Regions from separate parts of the Homo sapiens genome. Here regions 1 and 3 are each linked to region 2. Evidence: promoter capture Hi-C in human tissues and cell types (Jung and others, 2019). All regions are on one chromosome and are shown on one strand. Each heading gives the region's core, a stretch centred on a gene start or on the middle of the fragment in contact. The rest is flanking DNA. Distances are from core to core; before and after follow the strand shown.

Region 1 (4,390 bases), core at 854-3,353, 320 kb before region 2:
ATTTGGCGGACAGTAGACAGGTCCCTGAAGAGGAGCAATAAGAGATGAAGCCAAAAAGAAAGACTGAAAGCAACCTGTGGTGAGCAAGACAGAATTTGGATTTTATTCTGTAGGTAATGTGGTGTTACTGAAGGTTCCTCAGTGTGTAGAGTGGTATTTCAGAATTGTTCATCTGCACATAGACCTGAAACTTGGCTTTAGAAAGACCTAAAGACCCAGAGTTCAGATAACAGATTCTCAAGCTGTGTTTTAGTACAGAGAAAAATGTTCTGTAAGGGACTTTATAAATTCAGAATTCTAACACGAGCAGTGTTGGTTACCTAAAAATTAGAAAAACTGGAATATAGAGTTTAGATAGCAATGGAATCCAATTTATTTTTCATCATTTTACTTTTGTTAATGAAGTGTGAGCTTTGTCTGTAGCTGCCATGAAGTGACTGATTTCCTTTATAAAACCTACAGTCTTTATTCAGAAGCAAGTCTTCAATGTTGCTATGGGCCTAATAAATTATTATAAACCATTTTGCAAAAATTAAATTTTGCCTAAACAACACTTTTAATAATAAGGTTGTCTAAAGTTAATATACAAACAGGGCTCTCTGAGGGTGTTAACTATCTAGTAATTCAGGCTCTGCTGGATACAGTGACAGAGCTCTATGAACCTCAACTAGAACTCAGGTCGGCCTCAGGTGAATATAAACACTGTATGTGAGTCACCTTGCAATTACAGCTGCCACCTGGAAGCAAATTTAAGCAGTAAGAACTACAAAACCAAATCCCTGTAAGATCCTGCATTGACCTTCCTCTTACTTCTTCCTGTCTGAGGATCCATAAACCTCAGGATTCTTTACTAATTTCTCATCAGCATCATTTTTTATTGTATTTCCAAATTTAAAAACAACTGTCTCCAAAGGCCTCAAAATTACTTTCAGTTATTACTATAATAAATATCAGCGATGTATGATGTATTAATTAGAAACTAAGGTGTTTTTTTTCCCCTCCCCACAGGAAAACTACTTCAGAGAAAGACTTTAAATTTCTGAGAAAATCTTTATACATATTGAGTATAGATGCTATCAACCACATACATGAAAATAATTGTTTGGGGATAATGCACACCATTTGCCAATGATTAAGATTCAGCCCAGTCTTTGTTGCTGCATTTCTACATTCACATAAATTGGTAAGTCATGATGACACAGAAGGCTCACATGCCACGTAAAAATTTCAAGCCTGGATCTGAATGGGTGCCTGAATCCTTCTCAGAATGCATATTTTGGAGGCAACTGTTTGGTTTATGTTACTGCTCCCTAAACTGGGCAGTGACTCAAGAGGCAGCTGGAAGAGAGAAGGAGGTGCTGGGCAAGTGCTAAAAAAGAGTGAAGCCTCAACAGCAGAGTCCCTCCCCTTCTCTACACACCACACAGCCTTTTTGTGACTTCTTGTCCCCATAAGATATGCTCCTCTAGACTAACTCCCCTTCCCAGGGTGGAGCAGAGTCTCACCGGCTCATTATCTCACAGCTCCCGGGATGGCCCCGGGTACAGCAACTGTGTGGCACTTGGCTGTGGAAATTCAAGTTTTTCCACCCTAAAACAAGTAGGTTGTGAAACCCGATTTCGGTCCTGGTTACCATTGAGAGGGGCCTACCACAGCCCTGTGCCTGGAAGTTCCTGCCTGTCGAAGCTCCTAGCCCCCTGCCCCATCCTCACCTTCTGCACCTGATGGAGAAGGTGCAGTCCCTCCGCGCACCTTACATGCCCATGCCACACTGGTGGACTCACGCACGCACGCCAACTCTGCCATCCCATGCACGCCCGGCTTCGGAGGGCGGCTACGAACTTACTGCTCGTCGAGCCAGCCGAGCCAGGGCGCAAGGGGAAAGGCCCGAGCGGGGCCGGGGATAGGATCGGATAGGAGTCGGGGTCGTGGATGGGGTCGGGGCGGACCCCGCCGGCCCGCTGGCCTCCCTCCCCTGACCCCCGGGACAGCCCCCGATGCACGTGCTGGGTGACAGGCCCCCTATAGGTTCCATACCTGCCACCGGAAGTGAGTGAGGAGGGCAGTATAGGCATTTCCTGTGACGCGAGCGCCTGGACTCCATTAGGCAGCAGCTGGGGGAAGAATCAACACACCAGGGAGCAGAGCGGAGCGGATCCGAGGACAGAGGCGGCAGCTGCCTCCGCTGCCGCCCGCCGCCGCCGCCGCCGCAGCCACTGCCGGGGCTCAGCCCAGCGGCGGGCCCCGCGCCCCCGCAGCCGCCCCGCGGCGCCCCCCGGCGCGACCCCCGGGCCGCGCACCCCGAGCTGCCTCCGGGAGGGGGGGGGGAAAGGGCCCGGATCCTCCTTCTCCCCCTCCTCCTCCTCCCCCTCCTCTCACCCTCACCCTCACCCTCCTACCCTGACCCCCTCCCCGCCTCCCCGGCCCCCCTCACCCCGACCCTCTCCCCGGCCCCCGCCTCCCCTCCCCCGCCTCGCCCCACCGGCTTCCCACCACGGCCTCTCTCGGCGAGGAAACTCTGGCCTCCGCTTCCTCCTCCTCCGACTCGGACACCGGCGGAGCCTCCCCGCCCCCGCGGAAGAAACCCCGAGCCTCGGCGGCGGAGGGAGTAGGAGAGCCCGGGGCTTCGGCAGGCAGAGCAGGCCTCTCCCCTCCGTCCTCGTCGTCCTCGTCCTCCTCCTCCTCCTCCTCCTCCGTGGTGGTAGTGGTGGGACTTCCCCCGGCTGCTGCCCCTCCCGCCGCCGCTGCTGTCCCCCACCGAAGTAGCGGCCACAGCCTGGTCAGCGGCAGCATCATGCAGGCCAATGGGGCAGGAGGAGGAGGAGGAGGTGGCGGCGGCGGCGGTGGAGGAGGAGGGGGCGGCGGGGGCCAGGGACAGACCCCGGAACTCGCCTGCTTGTCGGCCCAGAACGGGGAGTCGTCCCCCTCGTCGTCGTCGTCCGCGGGGGACCTGGCCCACGCCAATGGGCTCCTGCCTTCCGCCCCCTCCGCCGCCAGCAACAATAGCAACAGCCTGAATGTCAATAACGGGGTTCCCGGCGGGGCGGCCGCCGCATCCTCAGCCACCGTCGCAGCTGCCTCCGCCACCACCGCCGCCTCCTCTTCCTTGGCCACCCCAGAACTGGGCAGCAGCCTCAAGAAGAAGAAGCGGCTCTCCCAGTCAGATGAGGATGTCATTAGGCTAATAGGACAGCACTTGAATGGCTTAGGGCTCAAGTAAGTATCCCTTACCGCCAGCTGGTGATGGACAGACCGAGGGACGGAGGCTCCAGGGGGGTAGGGGAAGGGGCGGAGGGGGGAGGGGGGCTTGAAAGAGCTCGGTCAAAGAGAATGAGTGCTGGGCACGCAGGACCCAGTACACAGGAGGACGCGGCTCAGGGCGACCGGGGAGGAGGAGCGGACCTGAAAGGAAATAGGGGAAAATCAATCAGTCTGACAAATTGTGAGACGAGACAGGCGTTGAGGGGTTAGGAAGGGTTAGGAGAAACCCAAAGAATGACTTCTCCCCACGCACCTTCAGAGCTTAATTGTCTGTCAATAAAGACAGATGCGGGAGTGTGTTTCTGTATGTGTTGGGGGAGGGGTGGATTAGAGCTGGTGGAAATAATGAACCTTGGAGGATTTGTTTTTCAAGTGTATCTTGGAGGCATCTTTGTGGGACACCTCCCCACCCCCAACCGTGGCAGACAACAACCCAAGCAAACTACCAATCAGGAAAGACAATCACCTACAAGTGTTTATGGGAACGGAGGGGCTGGGATCATTTGGAAAGAGGTTGTTGAATAAATCTGATGCGAATAATGAAGATACAGTGTTGATGTCGTTTAAAGGCCCTTGTGTGTGTGTACAAGAGGCCTAACCCTAACTAGTCTGAAATCTCAGTTTAATACCAAGAAGATGATCGCCTCTGAAAAGGGGACATCTGATCTGGTGAACCATTTGTTTTCAAATACAATTTAGGTGGCCTTGTATACCTAACATAGGGTGAAGGTAGACAGCGACCTTGGACAAAAACCACCGTTTTGTATACACACAAAGAAAAACTAAGGGGGTGGAAGGTAGGATTGGTGGGAGTGCCTGATGAAGGAGGTGCAAGAGACGGAGTCAGAATGAAATGAAGGGGGGAGGACGTGCAGCAGCAGTCAGTTTCCTACATTCAGAGTGTAGATTAAGCTCTCAGGCTAGCCGATGTGTACTTTTGCATTTATGGATTTCTTGGGGAGTGGGGAGGAGAACAGAACTTTTTAAAAGTGGCACAAGTATTTCGGTTTTCAGGCAGATCATTGCACTGTTTAGCTAAAAATTAAGTTTTAAAGCTGAATAAGAAAGCATTGAAACATAAGCACAAAAAATAGACTGATAAATGAAGGTTCTTAGATACCAGAATACA
Region 2 (4,153 bases), core at 454-2,953:
GGTTGAATGGTTCAATTCAATCAAATGTTATATGCCCAATTTTCCAAACACTGTATATGTACAGCGCGAATTTTGATTAAACGCCACTGTTTGTAAAAATCTGAAGGAATATTTAAGATTCTACATGAAATTCTAGAATGAAAACGTTTTGGAAATTCAGAGGCAATCAATTGTGAAATATCTATTTTCAGCTGAAGAAATTTTCCATCCTGCAGACTGGCATGGTTGAACTGCTGTGTTGACTAGAAAAAAAATTGGCCATCAGTTTGAATTAATATTTATAAGTTCTCTTTTAAAAATGTTATGATTTCCTTTAAAAATGTAATTATAATCCACTTGAAAGTGGAGGTGTATGCCTACAATATAGCATATTGAGTAATAAGAAGATGTTATACACAGCACATTCAGAAATATCTTTGTCCTCTTAAAAACAATTCCCAGCACAGATTTAGCTTCTCCATGGAATCGGTTTGCAATCACTTCAAAATGTCCACCTCCTTCAATTTCTTTACCACTTAAAGATAATTTCATTGAAAGGCAGCAAAATATCTAACTGAACTAACAATCACCACATCTTCAAACCTCTGGAGTGAAGTAAAACCCCAATGGCAAATTCATTATTTTTAAAAATCATGGACTGACCTATTGTGATTTTAAGGTATAAAGAAACCTCTCCTAAAGCAGGTGGGTGGGCGTAAATCACTAGTTAAAAATAAATTGCAAAAGAGAAAAAACCCGTCAAGGGGTAAGTTGCTTCTCTACGGTGGGAAGCGTTAGGATGAGGCAAAGCAGGAATGGTCATTTCCCAAGGCTCTACTTTAGTGGTCAATTAGGGCGCTGGGGCTAACGCTAAGTAAACACGTTCGAATTCTTCGGAACCTCTACCTGGGTTTGGGGTCACTGAGCCACCTTAGTCTACTCAATCTTCTCGAACAAGAAAACTTGGGTGGTTGGGGTGGGGAACAATTCGTTATTCTTGCAAGATAAACCAAACCTGGCTGGGATCATCTGCCTACTTCTGAGTTTTCTCCCCAAACCCAGGCCGGGGGCTGGAAGCGGCATACAAAAGGCAGGCGACATGACCTCTCCGGGTCTACTCTCGGGCCAGGCGGAAGGTGGGAAGACCAACTCCGCTACCCCTCCCGTAGAGGGCCCGCTTCCGGGCGGGGGGCAAGGAGCCCCCAAGGCGAAGTCCCCTCAGGAAGTAACCCCAGCTCCGCAGCTAGGACGCAATCGGGAACCAGCCCACTCCTGCTGACTGACGCCAAGGGAGAGTTCGGGACGGGAGCGGCTCCCTCCCAGATCTGTAGCCGGCTGGGGCTCGCGGGGGGCTCCCTTCCCGGGGAACGCGCTCCCTTCTCATCTCCCAGACCTCGGCCGGGGGGAGAGGGAGGCAGGAGTTCTGCGGGGGCCTCACCAGGCGGAGCTGGCTAATTTCGTCGTAGGACATAAAGCTGAGGATGTTCTCGATGGCTACGATGGGCAGCGCCACAAGCGTGTTGTTTTGAGGCAGCTGGTCCGGAGCCAGCGCGGGGGCTGGGAGCGCCTGGGACCCCGGCTGCGGGTGCTGTGGCGCGGGCGGTGGAGGCTGTCGCTGGGTAGAGCCGGAGGCCAAAGAGGAACCGCCGTCGCCTTGGCCGCCGCCTCCTTCCTCTGCCATCCGCTCCTCCGCCGCTGCCGCCATCTTGGGGGCTTGATTCCTTACCCCCACAGCAAGGGGAACAGGGACACTTCCGGTGCGTCACTTCCTCCTCCTGCAGCCGCCGGGGAAGGGGTACCTGGAGGAGTGGGGAGGAGCCTGTGGGATAACAGGCGGAGAGAGACTCACAGGGTGCCTTTCAAGTGGAAGTCAGGGAAGATCATGTAAACCTCAAGAAAGGTGGTCATCCTAGACCCTTTTGTCTAAGATTAGTAACTACTTGAGAGCAAGGAAACCCTATTTATTAAAATGAACTTCACTGTGCAGTTTTCTTAAAGGGCTTCCTGACAATGGATGATAAAGATGTTGCCTAGTAAGTGTAGATGGAAATAATGTAGTTAGACTAGCACCATTTTTTAGGAATCATAGAAATGATTGATTTAGGCAAATAAAAAGGTATGAAATATCAATAAGAACTACAACATGAATGAACCGTGAGAACATATTAAGTGAAATAAGTTAGACACAAAGGACCACATATTGTATGATTGCATTTATATAGGATGTCTTAAATAGGCAAATCCATAGAGATAAAAAGTAGATTAGTGGTCGCCAGAGGCTGGGGGAAATGGGGAAATGAGTGCTAATGGGTGAAGGGTTTCATTTTCGGGGTGATAAAAATGCTCTGGAATTAGCGGTGATGGTTACACAACCGTATGAATATACAAAAACCACTGAATTACTATATACTTTAATGAATTTTATCATATATGAATTGTATTCTAATAACTGATTTAGGCAAGAATCATCAAAAGGTACTAAAACTAGGAGGTAAACGTGATGAGGAACATGATATTTCCATAGTCTCAAAATAACTCCCCATAAATTATGTATTATTTACAAAGATGAAAAGAAATAGTTTACAAGGCTGGGCGTGTTGACTCACGCCTGTAATCCAGCACTTTGGAAGGCTGAAGCGGGAGAATCACTTTAGCCCAGAAGTTGGAGACCAGCCTGGGCAACGTGGAGAAACCCCATCTCTACAAAAAATACAAAAAATTAGCCAAATGTGGTGGCTAGGTCCTATGGTCCTAGCTACTCGTGAGGCTGAGATGGGAGGATTGCTTGAGCCACACGAGTTCGAGGCTGCAGCGAACCGTCAGCCTGCCACTGCACTCCAGCCTGGGCAACAGAGCGAGAAAAAAAAAAAAAGTTTACAATAGAGAAATTTGGTGGACACCATCATAACCAAATGATCAAGACTAACGCCACAGTTATAGGAGGAGCCAATATCATATGCCTATTAATATAATACCCTGAAAAGGACGCAGCATAATGTAGTATTCATGCAAAAAAAGCACGAGTTGCGTTTGAGGTAGACATCGCTAGATGACGGGCCCATAAATTATTCAAAAGTGTTAACGTTACAAAAGACAAAGACTAAGGGTTTGTGGCAGATTAAAGGATACTAAAGAGACAGGGCAACTAAATCTATGGGTGATCCTGGATGGGATCCTGGATTAAGGAAGAAATAACTATGAAGAACGTTATTGTGACAACTGGCAAAATTTAAAAATGGACAGTATATTAGATTATACTGTAATCATATTAAATTTTTCGATTTGGGTAATTGTATTATGGTCATATAAGACAATGTCTTTGTCTTTAGGAAATACACATTGAAGGATAAGCATGCTTCTATTATTTTCCTTTATTTATTTATTTATTTTTTTGAGATGGAGTCTTGCTCTGTCACCCAGGCTAGAGTGCAGTGGTGCGATGTCAGCTGGTTCGAGCAATTCTCCTGCCTCAGCCTCCTGAGTAGCTGGGATTACAGGCGCCCACCATCACGTCTGGCTAATTTTTGTATTTTTAGTAGAGACGGGATTTCACCATCTTGGCCAGGCTGCTCTCGAACTCCTGACCTTGTGATCCACCCACCTCAGCCTCCCAAAGTGCTGGGATTACAGGCAGCAATGGCGCCCGGCCGCATGCTTTGTATTTTACACTTTGCTTTCTTGTGCTTCTCAGATATTGCGTTTTTAAAAATGAATTGAAGGTTTGTGGCAACCCTTGAGCAAGTCTCTTGGTGCCATTTTTCCAACAGCATGTGTTCACCTTGTTTCTTTCTGTCACATTTTGATAATTCCTCTGATATTTAAAACTTTTTATTATTGTTATATCTGTTATGGTGAGCTGTGATCAGTAATTTTTTTTGTTTATTGAGGCAGCATCTTGCTCTGTTGCCCAGACTGGAGTGCAATGACAGGATGATGGCTCACTGTAGCCTCCACCGCCTGGGTTCAAGCAATCCCCCAACCTTGGCCTCCTGAGTAGCTGGGACTACAGGTGTGTGCCACCACACCTGGATAATTTTTGATTTTTTTTTGTAGAAACAGGGTTTTGCCACGTTGCCCAGGCTGGCCTTGAACTCTTGTGCTCAAGCAGTCTGCCTGCTTTGGCCTCCCAAAGTGTTGAGATTACGAGAGTGAGCCACCATGCCTGGCAGATCAG
Region 3 (4,455 bases), core at 1,905-4,404, 270 kb before region 2:
AAAAGAACCATTTCTGAAGCCCGATTGGGGCCAAACATTTACACCTTGCTTCATAGTAACCAGTTGAGATGAAGCACGTCGTTAGAACGTTGTTGGACACCATGTTGAATTATTCCCCCATCGGTTGTGAAGAACTGTGCTACATTCAGGCTTACCCATTGAACTCAGTATATATATTTTTTTCCTTCCTGTCTTTTGTCTGGCAGGATACCATTCTTGTTGCTCTTCTGTGTAATGAAGTTTAAATGCTTGTTTGGAAAACTTTATTTAACAGTTTAGAAGGCTTGATAGAAAGAGTGCATTAGTCTGAAGAGTATACATTGGATAGGAAAGAATTTCCTTCTTTTGTTTCTCCAAATCTTTCCGCCTTATTTAGCTTGAGATCTTTGCAGCTTGGTTCATGGATTCTAGCCTTGCCCGTTGCGCAGTATATACTGATCCAGATGATAAACCAGTGAACTATGTCAAAAGCACTCTCAATATTACATTTGACAAAAAGTTTTGTACTTTTCACATAGCTTGTTGCCCCGTAAAAGGGTTAACAGCACAATTTTTTAAAAATAAATTAAGAAGTATTTATAGGATTAAAGTGACTTCATTTGTATACATTTGGAATCTAAACCAGCTTAAAAACAGTTTCCTCAATGACTTAGATACACAGTATAACTGATGCTCTTCTGGAATACCACATGAGACATGGTCAGAAACAGTGCTTGGAAGGACATTACACAAGAAATTCAGAGTAATGCTTTGAAGATTTCCCCCCTTTTGTTTTATTCCTGAAGGAACATCAGTACCCGATCTTGAAGAAATTCAAGATTCAAAAAGAATTTTAAATACACCAACATGAGACATCAGTAGTCAGTTGGTTTTCAGTAAAGCTTGTTCCAAGTTGTTCTCAACTTAGGAAGTAATTTTGGTGTGATCTAGCAAAAGAGTAGGAATCAGCGATACAACCACTTTGGAAGTTTATAGTATAATTGAAATTATTAGAAGAATTCAGCAGGTTACAGACATACTTAAACTGGGATTAAAACCTCATAGTCATTTTTCTTAATTGCCCTTAATATTTTGACATATAGGGATACATAAATTTAAAGAATATTTTTTCTCAGTTTTTTCAGATATTGCCATACTGAACCTCATTCTAAACTGGTGCTGTGGATAGTCTTTCCCTCTCCCCTCCTGTTTTAGTTTAAGGAAAGGTTTCCTTCATGGAAAAGCACTTTTAATTTTGAGAATTTCACATTTAAAATAAGCCAAAAGCCTGATGTTCACATTGTGCTTTTAAACTCCGTAACAGCTGAATACAACATAACATAGTCTCCCTTGAAATTCCCTCCCTTTTTCAGTAGAGGATAAATAGGGTGACTCCAGCTGTTGGAATGAGAATGGGGATACCCCCAAAATAAGATTCTGGTGAAGAAAAAGTCTTGTACTAAGTTCCCCTTTAGGTGTAGCCAAGTCTATAATATAATTATGATCATGAATAGACTCCAGAATCCACAAAGAGAAGAGGGCTTGGATGTCAAAAATTCTTCCATTGTGGGGTAGGTGGTCGGGGATGGGAGAAAGGGAAAAGTCAGGGAAGGGGAGAAGAAAGAAAAACACATTTGGCCTTAAAATAGCATGCATTCTCCCAGAAGCCCATAGTAAAGAAAATGACAGATCGTGGTCAGCAGACTCTTATCAAATTGGTATGTAAAAGATTTCTTCAAGCTCCATTTTGCAGAGACCACCACTTAGAGAATCAAAAAATTCCTGTTTTGATACTTCTAAGTTAAAATATATGTTACAGTTTATCTGGTACTTCATTTTTCTTAACTAAAATTACTTTTTACTTTAAGCTTGAATAAAAATCTTCATTGGTAACTGTATGTAATTAAGTGGCAACTTCTCTTTACCTCAGTATAGTTAAAAACCATTCATATTTTAAGTGATTCATGTATACCCTGAAGCCGTTAATACACCCCAGTCTCTATGGTAACATCACTAAATGTGGGCATAGAAACTCCACAGCTGTTTACAAATTTGGTTACAGTGTGCTACGGTGCATTTGTAACACTCAGATTTGTGCCCATTCAGGGGCAATTTGGCACTCAGATTCTACTCTACTTCACCTAACCACCCCTAGATCTGAGTTTTCAGAGTGCTTCTGAAGTACAGTTTAAAAACACTTTTTAAAAAGTGGAGTAAAAGTGAGGCACATTTTACAAGAACATAACTCCTATTAAAACGGAGTAACAACTATGCAAAGGTTTCTATAGCAGCTAGGTGAGTTTGTTTTCCGGGTCTGTCTTAACTGGCAGCTTCCTGTACATACTGGTACTTATTTGCTGTAAACGTCTGTTTCATACATTTGCCATGCAGTGACTGTGCTCGAAAGGTGAAATCAATGGTAAAGAAGCCTAGGATTTTATGGTATGAGAAACTGATCGCAGGATTTTCTGATCCATAGCTATTAATTGAAAACTTCTGATAGTGCTGTAGGCTCTATAGTAGGCTTAAGAGTGAGTCTTATACTATGAAGCCAGCCACAAGATACTAACAAATGTATAAATTGAAAAGTACCAATACTTTTTGCACATAGATCAAAATAGAGTGGAGAATTTGGGCTCCAAAAATCAGGTTAGTAGGCTCATTTCCATGTGCTTAAAAATGTTTTTGTTGTTATGCATTGATTAAGGGCTAGAGCAAATATAAAATTAAATGTCTTTTTCCTCCAAATAATTGGTTATTAATGGTAAAATGTTGGACTTGGGGATTACTGAGATTAGTATGTGGGTAGTAAAGAATTGGAGTGGGAGTTAGTGGGGAGGGATGACAAAGCTTCAGCTTTGGTTTTTGTATTTTTTTAGTCTTCATAACAGCTACATTTCTGTTGCTCTTATTGGCCAGATAAATGTGTTATATTAAACCAGGTAAGTATTTTAAACAGAGAACATTTTATTTGCATATATCCCTACAAATTGGCCCATTTTATTGGGTGGGGGGATAAAAAAGGGATTCCCTAACTTTAAATAATCAGAATATCCTGCAATTGAAAGGAGAAAAAAATCCAATTTTGTCAGTATTTTCTTAGTCTGAAAAAAACAGCAGTAGTAATCTGGTGAATGTTATTATTAGGAGTGTTCTGCCTCTACAGTGGCATATTCCATGACATTAATAGAAAACCCTTCTTTCCCACCCCTCCCCATCTTGACATTTTCTTTTTTAGGATGTTGGTTCCTGCAAACAAGAACTGACCCTATCACCTCTGCCTCACAGTGGGTAAATATATCATACATCTCTTGAAAGGGAAAATATCCATGTCAGTTTCTTTCACAGTAGAAGAATGGCTGCTTTTGAATGGGGAGGAAAGAAGACATTTTTCTTAATATCCTTTTTGTCCCATCTCTAAAATGTATAAATATTTTGATTTGGTTTTACTTTAATTTCTCATTCATAATTTCGCAACTGTCCTTTTGGGTTGCCCTCCAACACATTACTTCCATTTCAGAAACCATATCTGATTTAATATAAACTGCTAACTTAAGAAGAGGTGAATTTGCATTTACACTTAGACACTTTCTAAAAACAGGGTGAACTTAATTGAAATTTTTCAGTGTTGTTAAGCTATTGTTATAGTAGCTGCCCTATAGTTACAAAAATAAAAACTATAAAAACCCATCCCCTATCTACTTAATCCAGATAGCCTGGATTTAACAAAACCAATAGTATAAAAATGTGTGTGTGTGTTCTGTGTGTGTGTGAGAGAGAGAGTACTTGATTCATTAAAAAGTCCTGGAAACAGCTGTTCTAGGATCTTGTCATTTTTACTGAAAGTCTCGTGCACATGTGAAGTGCCCTCTGAGTTTAAGGTTTGGTTAATACTGGTATATTTTTATAAGATTGAAATTGTGTCCCCATCTTTAACTTAAACATTTTCATTATCAGGGTCAATGTGCTAGAACTGAATTGTAACATTTTTAGGCACAGATGGAAAAAAATGTTATTGGCTCCTTGAAAATGTGTGTGTGTGGCGAGGGGAATAGATCCACAAAAGCATGTATGTACTTACAAACCAAGCTGTAGAGATCAAGAAAAGAACTTAAGTGTTGATCTCAAGATTTCTAAATTGTCAAGATTTACATGGCATTGTGGTGGAACTAGTTAACACTTAGAGCTTTTGGTATGTAATAACTATTTGCTATGGACTGATTAAATGTTTCAAAAGATTGTGTTCTTCAATTTTGGTGGGTTTTGATTTTTGTTTTTTTAACTGCCTCTCAGATTATATTTACTTAGTTTAAATTTCTTTGCTTTATTCATTAAAGTATAAAAACTTCAGGTCTCTGATATTTATTTTCACTTGTTTACTAATTATTTACAAAACACCCTTTGTTGACTTTTATTTTATAAATGTGTAATGTATTAAACGTCTTTAAATTTTTGTTCAACTGAAACTACATTAAC

The links. Contacts are between HindIII fragments. The study calls those that stand out against the background at their distance.
Region 1: the fragment with the promoter of WDR26 here is called in contact with the fragment with the promoter of FBXO28 in region 2 in 1 of the 25 tissues and cell types used here (spleen).
Region 3: a fragment that was not itself captured here is called in contact with the fragment with the promoter of FBXO28 in region 2 in 2 of the 25 tissues and cell types used here (heart right ventricle and mesenchymal stem cells).

The regions. Positions count from the first base shown.
Region 1 is chr1:224,432,510-224,436,899 of GRCh38, reverse strand. WDR26 (WD repeat domain 26) reads left to right here and starts at 2,103. Exons shown (of 14, transcript NM_001379403.1): 1 at 2,103-3,216. The coding sequence starts at 2,495. It also overlaps a transcript of CNIH3 not described here. RefSeq lists an enhancer at 1,195-1,384 and a silencer at 1,725-2,124. The HindIII fragment of the contact is 17,142 bases long and covers 1-4,390 here.
Region 2 is chr1:224,111,661-224,115,813 of GRCh38, reverse strand. FBXO28 (F-box protein 28) reads right to left here and starts at 1,703. Exons shown (of 5, transcript NM_015176.4): 1 at 1,418-1,703. The coding sequence starts at 1,684. It overlaps LOC105373056 (a long non-coding RNA gene), which reads left to right and starts at 1,774. Exons shown (of 3, transcript XR_007066897.1): 1 at 1,774-1,879. RefSeq lists enhancers at 1,641-1,710, 1,851-1,910, 1,931-2,060. The HindIII fragment of the contact is 33,635 bases long and covers 1-4,153 here.
Region 3 is chr1:224,385,265-224,389,719 of GRCh38, reverse strand. It overlaps WDR26 (WD repeat domain 26), which reads left to right. Exons shown (of 14, transcript NM_001379403.1): 14 at 1-4,455. Among named protein-coding and RNA genes, the nearest start is that of MIR4742, 11 kb to the left of the region's middle. The HindIII fragment of the contact is 3,580 bases long and covers 1,365-4,455 here.